Linked DNA regions of Homo sapiens: region 1 is linked to region 2. Evidence: promoter capture Hi-C in human tissues and cell types (Jung and others, 2019). All regions are on one chromosome and are shown on one strand. Each heading gives the region's core, a stretch centred on a gene start or on the middle of the fragment in contact. The rest is flanking DNA. Distances are from core to core; before and after follow the strand shown.

What was found. The method cuts DNA at HindIII sites, captures the fragments that hold promoters and counts their contacts. A contact is called where the count stands out against the background at its distance.
Region 1: a fragment that was not itself captured here is called in contact with the fragment with the promoter of TPRKB in region 2 in 1 of the 25 tissues and cell types used here (aorta).

What each region holds. Positions count from the first base shown.
Region 1 is chr2:74,028,083-74,031,982 of GRCh38, forward strand. All of the region lies in intron 3 of TET3 (tet methylcytosine dioxygenase 3), which reads left to right. Among named protein-coding and RNA genes, the nearest start is that of TET3, 45 kb to the left of the region's middle. RefSeq lists enhancers at 2,682-3,183, 3,184-3,683. The HindIII fragment of the contact is 7,139 bases long and covers 1-3,900 here.
Region 2 is chr2:73,734,948-73,739,298 of GRCh38, forward strand. It overlaps TPRKB (TP53RK binding protein), which reads right to left and starts at 2,398. Exons shown (of 5, transcript NM_016058.5): 1 at 2,355-2,398. RefSeq lists enhancers at 2,660-2,739, 2,780-2,839. The HindIII fragment of the contact is 20,385 bases long and covers 1-4,351 here.

The sequences.
Region 1 (3,900 bases), core at 250-2,749, 290 kb after region 2:
AGGGGATCCTCCTGCCTCAGCCTCCCAAGTAGCTAGGACTACAGATGTGTGCCACCACCATGCCTGCCTAATTTTAAAAAAAAAATTATGTAGAGCAGGGGTCTTGCTTTGTTGCCTGGGCTGGTCTCAGACTCCTGGCATCAAGCAATTCTTCAGCCACCCAAAGTGCTGGAATTACAGATTTGAGTTACCATGCCTAGCCGTTTTTTTTTTCACTTTCTTGATGGTGTCCTTTGAAACTCAAAAGTTTTTAATTTTGATGAAGTACAGTTTATCTTTTTTCTTTTGGTCTCATATCTGAGAAAGTTCTGCCTAATCCAAGATAATAAATATTTATGTCTGTTTTAGAGTTTTATAGTTTTAGTTCTTACACTTGGGTCTTTGATCCATTTTGAGTGAGTTTTTGTATATGGTGTGAGGCAGGGGTTCACATGCTGTTGCAACTGGATAACCAGTTGTCCCAATTAAAAGACTGTTCTTTTCCCATTTAATTATCTTAGTGTCTTCTCACTGTTTTGTAGATGTTTATAGTAGATGAGAGAGCTAGATTGGTCTTTATAGCTTTTTTATTGGTTACTTGCATGTATTGTTTGGTATTAACATTTACATGATGTACATCAGTTATCTTCAAAATTTCTGGTGAAGGACTAAGTTTTAAAAATTTCTAATTCATGGACTGATAATTTTGTAAAAATAAGAATGAATTACTAGAAAAATGATCATGTGCTTAGATGCCATGACAATGTCAAATTGTGATACAAGTGTCTAAAGTTAACACTCTTAGCTTTTGTATTTACCTTGTCACAGACTAATGGAGATAGCAGAATAGTGCTAGTCCATAGATCACACTTACAGGAGTCCTGGCCAAGACTCAGCTGGCCATGCTCAATCTGCTTATCTCTTGCTGGGCATGTCTTCAACCAGTGTTTGTAGAACCATGGGCCTTAGGGGGTCTCATGATTGTTACCTTGGGGTACTGGAACAGCAAATACTAGTGTTACTACTGCTTCTCCTCCAATCTTGAAAGGGGCAGTTGTCCCCAAAGGCTTACTAGACACGTACCTTTTATATTTGTAGTCACCCAAATAAGATGAAGCCCTTGTACTAATGTGAGTAAAATCCTACCCCTACCTGTTGTTATCAAGGTTGCTTCCTACAGCCTTCAAGGTTGAGTAGAATCCATCCATTCAGCCTTTAGTGCCAAGTTGCCATCCCTGTTCTCAAGGGAATAATAAGCCCAAATAGACATGGAAGGAGGAGGAAAGACACTATTCCAACAGTCAATACGTCCCTTGGGAATATAGCAAACAGGAGAAAACCTAGAGATTCAGCCTCCGGGGCCCTGTGTGTGCTATATACATGCCAGAGAAAACAGTACAGCTATTAAAAATGAAATTCTTGAAGAATAGTTAACAATATAGGAAAATGTTTATACAGTTAGGGAAGAAATTAGCATATGAGAAAAAACCACTGATATACTCAGTCATCCCAGTTTTGTAAATTAAGTGTATGTTGCATAGTTAAAAAAGATACCAAATACAAACTATAGTCATCTTTAGGCAGTGGGAGATTTTTACATCTTTTTTATTCTCCACAGTGAAAAGAACCTCTTGTTCTGTCTCTCTCAGCAACTTCTACTGAAGCTGTCCTTTCTGTTCCTTATTCTATGCCTATGACCTCTCTTTATTCTCTTGGATCATCCACCAGGGTTTTCTCTGGCTCTATAATGAGTTTGTAGTATGCCTTTGATATCCTGTCAGTAACTACACTAGTGGCAGCTTCACTTGGAGATAAAGTCACTGTTAATATCAGTTTTCATTGCTTTCATCACATACTCAAAACCACAGAGTATGTATGTAACATGGGTTTATGTTGCCCTGCACATGTTAGTGATAGTGGTACAGTATCAGTTCCTAAAGGAACTTGCCTTTGAATAGGATCTAAGACAAAATCAAACGTCTAAAAAGTCCCTATCCAAGAGAAAGGACTCTGTTTGTTCACTACTCTATCCACAAAGAAGTGATGCGGAATGTATATTTGTTTGAGAGATAAATGAATGAATACATAATTATGTATGCATATAGGAAAGGAATGGTTGTTATGATGTGCTGATAGCATCAGTGAGTGACATCTCATAATTCTGTGGGCTGCAAATACTTATTTTCACTTTTTAAAAAAACTACCTAGTTTTCTCATTTGTGTGCTTGGTTTTACATAGTTGGCAGTCTAAACTTCATACAGTATGGTATTCTGCTATTCTTCCTATTTCATCTAGCTTTTTTCCTTAGTGTTTATAATTGCAGGTTTAGATGAGTGTATAATACTCTGTTGAATTGTATCATAGTTTACCAAACCAAGCCCCTCATACTGAGTTTTCAGCTTTCACTAATGTGTGGAAAGATTTTTTTTAATGCAAACTTATAAGCTCAAGTTTCTAGGAATAGCACTGCTTGATGGAAGTAGTCTTTATTGCTCTTGATAACATTTGTTCATGTGTTCATTTATTTGCTTATCTACAGATTTATTTACTTATTTATTTTTACTGTTTGAACCAAGACAGAAGTTGTAAGTTGTGAATTAGAAGGCACCCTGGCCTGGGAGCTGGGTGATGGGGGTTCAAGGCTCAGTGGGTTGAATATGAGTCCAACAGTAGTGTTCTGGGGTGGAAGCAGAGGCAGGGGGCCAGTCAAGGAGCCACCTCCTGAGTTTGTCCTTGTGAGAGATAAATGAGGAGAAAACAAAAAGAAGGCAGATCTGAAATGCTCTACAGGAGCAGTTGGCAGGACTAGGGTTTGCTTGCATATGGAAACATCAAGAGGACATCAGAGGGGATGGAAGGGTTTAGCCAGGATGCCCAGGGGAATGGATCTTAACGTGATTTTTTTTTGTAAAGGGATGTCCGGGGGGGAGTTGCTGAGGAAAAGGATGCAGGCGCTGAGTTAAGTTGTAAATGTGATGGGCTTAAGTTGCATTCAAGTGGAAGTGTGTCTGGTAGCTGGAAAGCAGTCAAGGAAAAAGGAAACTTTGGGGCTGTTGGTGCAGGCTGAGCGGTGGGGCCTTGATTGGAGGGGAGGCTTCTGAGGGGAGCATGGGGCGATGGAGAGCAGTGAGGGCAGGAGAGTGGAGAACAGCTCTGTTGAGGGGACGGAGGAGGAAAAGGAGAATGGAGGAGGACCAGTAACCGGCAGGGTCACGGAAACCCAGGGTGGGCAGGTGAGTGGGTGATCTGCTGCCACAGACAGGCCAGAGAGACGAGGGACCCCCGTGGCCTTCCTCATCACCCCGACTCTCAGAAACAGATAATGGTTGCGCAAATGCCTAGGTTCCTGTTCTGTTTCTCCAGCATTGCACCCAGGCCTTTCAGATGAACATGTGCAAACCCAGATTACTGGCATCTTTCAGTTATCTGGGCTAATAAACGAGTAGTGACTGTGGATAATGAAGCTTTACACACTAAGATGAGTTGTGTGACTTTTCCAGGAGTTGAAGTTTAGGATAAAGAGGATTAATTTGTGCTCCCCAATTTCCTGCCTTCTGGACAGCAGCAGGCTTCCCTAAATGGCATTTCCTAGCCTACTCTGTGAAGTTGATCTTGTGGCTGGTAGGTGGATACCCTCTGCCAAAAATTAATTTTCCTCTAGATTTTTGGGTGGTCACTTAAAGATTTATTTCTTTGAATGAAAAACTTAGGTCTTAAGTCCTTCAGAAAGGATTGAGTGGGGGCAAACACACAGGGATTCCTGTGAAAAGCTGAAATCCATGAATATTTATTGAGGCACATGTGGGAGCTCATTCTCCAAAAGAATGATTAGAACCTTGGTACCTGGGAGGCCATGGGCATCCACTATTGACTCTGATGTTGGATTCTACTTTGCCACTCACCAATTCTGAGCTTTGGAG
Region 2 (4,351 bases), core at 1,148-3,647:
CTTAGTCTTTTTAACTTCCTGATCTCATCATTTTATTTATATTTTAGGAAGGCCTAGACATAAATATTAAGGAAGAAAATAATTTTAAAGAATAAAGTAGGCTGGGTGCAGTGGCTCATGCCTGTAATCTCAGCACTCTGGGAGGCCGAGGCGAGCAGATCACCTGAGGTTGGGAGTTCGAGACCAGCCTGACCAACATGGAGAAACCCCGTCTCTACTAAAAATGCCAAAAAAATTAGCCAGGCATGGTGGCGCATGCCTGTAATCCCAGCTACTCAGGAGGCTGAGGCAGAAGAATCGCTTGAACCTGGGAGGCAGAGGTTGCAGTGAGCCGAGATCATACCATTGCACCCCAGCCTGGGCAACAAGAGTGAAACTCCGTCTCAAAAAAAAAAAAGAATAGGGGGAAGGGATAGCATTAGGAGATATACCTAATGTAAACGATGAGTTAATGGGTGCAGCATACAAACATGGCACATGTATACAGATGTAACAAACCTGCACGTTGTGCACATGTACCCTAGAACTTAAAGTATAAAAATAAAAAAAAAGGATAAAGTATCCCACTTGACCCAAAGATATTCATTCCACGCATGGAAATTAAGCAGAGAGGGTACAATTATTAAATAATCAATGTCGCTCCTTTCTTGGACATAAGCTTAACAAGAAAAGGATAGGTTATTATATATAAAGACATAAAAGAAACATAAAAGACAACTTGAATAACCAGAAAGACATGACCATATCTTTGAATGGAAAAACTATGTATTGCAAAAATTTCTTTAAAACAATTTCTATCAAATTCTTAATAAAATATTTTGGTGGGGCAATTTGAGACTCATTTTATCCTTTTACCTGGCAGATTATATTTCTAGAACTCTTTCTGATGGAAGTCATTAGGAATCCAATAATTATATAAGATGTTCCTCTCATTATTTTAACAGTAAAAAGTTGCAAATAACCTATCTAGCTAATGATGGGATTAGTTGTTATTTAACAACCATTAAAACATGTGGTCTTGACGGTGTGTAAAAACGGCAATAAATAACATTAAGTAAGTAAAAACATCTGAATGGAAAACAAAACACAAACTGGCCAAAATGTGGGTTTTTTAAAAGGCTTTTAAACAAATATTAAAAAGAAAATACACCAAAAAGTTAATGTTATCTCTTATTTAGAATTAATTTGACTTTTTCTGTTACAAACAGAAAAAAATATATTTGTGAACGATATCCTGGCACACAGTTCAATCATTAGTCATGCTAAGGTGGAAAAAATGGATACAGAAAGACATAATCAGTAGGATCCCAATTATATAAAAAGATACACATATTTTTTTAAAATACATGAAAGAAACACTAAAATATGACCATCTTGGGTAGTGAGGTTATGAGGTGATTTTTATTGTCCTTTATATAAAAGAAAATATTTTGTTATGTATGTTCTGAATTTTCTACAGTAAGCACACAAAACATGAGTACACATAATAAGAAAGGAAAAAAACGTGCTTTTTAACACTGAGTGGGGGGAAGAACCCTTAGAAAACTTCAAAATAGTTTGTTCTTGTTTAGCGTAATTTACTCACTCAGGTCAGAAACTTGGAATCATCGTTGAGACCCAACCTGTCACTCAAATCCTATATCTAATCCGTAAAGTCCTGAATTTTCACCTGCTAAATATACTTTTGATTCGTCCACTTCTCTCCCATACGCTAGGTCACATCGCTCATCTACAGCAGTAGCCTTCTGAGTGGTTTCTCACAATTCCTGCCCTCCTATAATCCAGTCGTCACCAGCAGTTACAGTGATCCTTTCAAAATGTACATCAGATCTTGTCATTCTGCTGCTCTTATGATAAAGCCCCAACTTTGTGTCACGGTGTTCCACACTCTACGATCTGGTCCCTGCCTCTCCTCTTCTGCTACCGCCGCAATGGCCTTCTCTAAGCTCAAGTCACCAACCTTTCTCCCCGATTCTGCCCTATCGGACAGGTAGTTCCCTCTCTCCTTTCATCTCCGCCTGACGCACTCCTCCCTCCCTTCAACTCCATTTGGAGTCCATTTACTACAGCGCCCAGAACCCCGGCACTACGGCTCTTTTTAGTCTGAGGACTAGCTCCTTTTTGGGCCCAATCACAACTCTGAAGAATCCTGCGCCTATCCGCTGCATGTCTCCTCACTAAACTATTTCTTGAGGGGACAGCCTGACTCTATCATTCTCGTGCTGCATTCCCAGGGGCTGGCCTCGTTGCCGCTTGAGAAATACCAACCGCAGCCGTTGTCCCAAAGACACTACTAAAACTGCCCGGACCCTCCCGCTCCCGAGCCTGCCCGTTAGAGCGCAAGGAAAACTCACCATCCGGCCCCCAGTGCGTCTCGGAAGAGCTCCCGCTCCGAAACAAAGCTCACAACTTCCGGAAGCGATGGCCAATCCCCGTCTTCTTCGAGCCAGTTTCCGGATAGGCCGGCTCGGGGTGGCCATCTGTTTCCGGGTCCTGGTAGGAGGGGTGCTTCCGCCCATGGTCCCGCCCATTCTTCCGCCTCCCCAACCTGGGTCCCGTCAACGGACGCGAAGGAGAACAGGGGCTGTATATCACTTCCGGCGAAGGAAATGGAAGAATCTATGGGCTGGGACCGGAAGCTGGGGTCTGGTTTTGAGTCTCGGCTTTGTCTTAACCTGTGTTGGGCGTTGCACCGGGCGACCTCAGTTTCTTCCTGTACAAGGAAAAGTACTGACCAAAATGAGTTCTACATACATTTCCGCTGCTGGAGATTTCTTTGGTTTTTGAGACAGAGTCTTGCTCTGTTACTCAGGCTGGAGTGCTGTGGTGCAATCTCGGCTCACTGCAACCTCCGCGTCCCGGTTCAAGCCATTCTCCTGCCTCAGCCTCCCGAGCAGCTGGGACTACAGGCACCCGCCACCACGCCCCGCTAATTTTTTGTATTTTTAGTAGAGACGGGGTTTCACCGTGTTAGCTAGGATGGTCTGGATCACCTGACCTCGTGATCCACCCGCCTTGGCCTCCCAAGGAGCTGGGATTAGTTCTTTTTCTGGGCCATGTCTCCTGTGACACTTTGGACTTTTGAGTTTAATGCTGGAACAAGTTAAAATTTTGGTAGGTGATTGGGAAGGCATGATTATGTTTTGCAATGTCAGAAGGACATGAGATTTGGGGGTCCAGGGATGGATTGAATATATGTCCCTGCCAAATCTCATGTTGAATTGTCCCCATTTTTGGAGGTGGGACCTGATGGGAGGTGTTTGGGTCATGGAAGTGGATCTCTCATGGCTTGGTGTCTTTGCAATAGTGAGTGAGTGCCAGGAAGATGTGGTTATTTAGAAGTGTGTGGCACCCTCCAACACAGTCTCTTGGTCCAGTTCTCACCATGTGATGTGCCTGCTCTCTCTTCTCCTTCTGCCAATAGTAAAAGCTCCCTGGGGCCTCCTCAGAGGCCAAACAGATGGTGGTACTATGCTTCCTGTACAGCCTGCAGAAACATGAGCCAATTTAACCTCGTTTCTATATAAATTACCCAGTCTCAGGTATTTCTTTGTGGCAATGCAACAGCCTAATTGCAGGGGGCAGGGGCAGGGGGAAGAGGTGGGGAGGCATGACACACTGGGCTAAAACATGAAGAACATTCGGCCAGGTGCGGTGGCTCACGCCTGTAATCCCAACACTTTGGGAGGCCGAGGCAGGCAGATCACCTGAAGTCGGGAGTTCGAGACCAGCTTGACCAACGTGGAGAAACCCCGTCTCTACTAAAAAATAAAAAATTAGCCAGGCATGGTGGCTCATGCCTGTAATGCCAGCTACTCAAGAGACTGAGGCAGGAGAATCACGTGATCTGGGGAGGCAGAGGTTGCCATGAGCTGAGATCGCGCCATTGCACTCCAGCCTGGGCAACAAGAGTGAAACTCCCTCTCAAAAAAAAATAAATAAATAAAAATTAAAATTAAAAAAAATATATATATATATATATACATATATATATGAAGGACATTCTATTTCTGGGAGACACTGGAACAGGGCCCTGGCTGGTCTGGTTAGTCTCTCTCTATCACAGGATGCTACATTCCCAGCACATTCTACAGTTATCCTAGAGAACCACAAGTGAGAAAGGAGAGAGAACTAAATTGGTCCAAGGCCACCTGGAGAACTGTCCTGCAGTCTATGCCCTTAACCCAGATTATACCCTTTAGCAAAGCTAGTCCGTTTCATATGCCCACCAACCTCCTAGTATCTGGAGGCGGAAGTTTGTCTTATCAGATCGATGTAACACCTTCACAGACACAATGTCAGTACAACATTGTTGAGCCATAGCCAGAATACATTTTACTAGGCCCAGGAG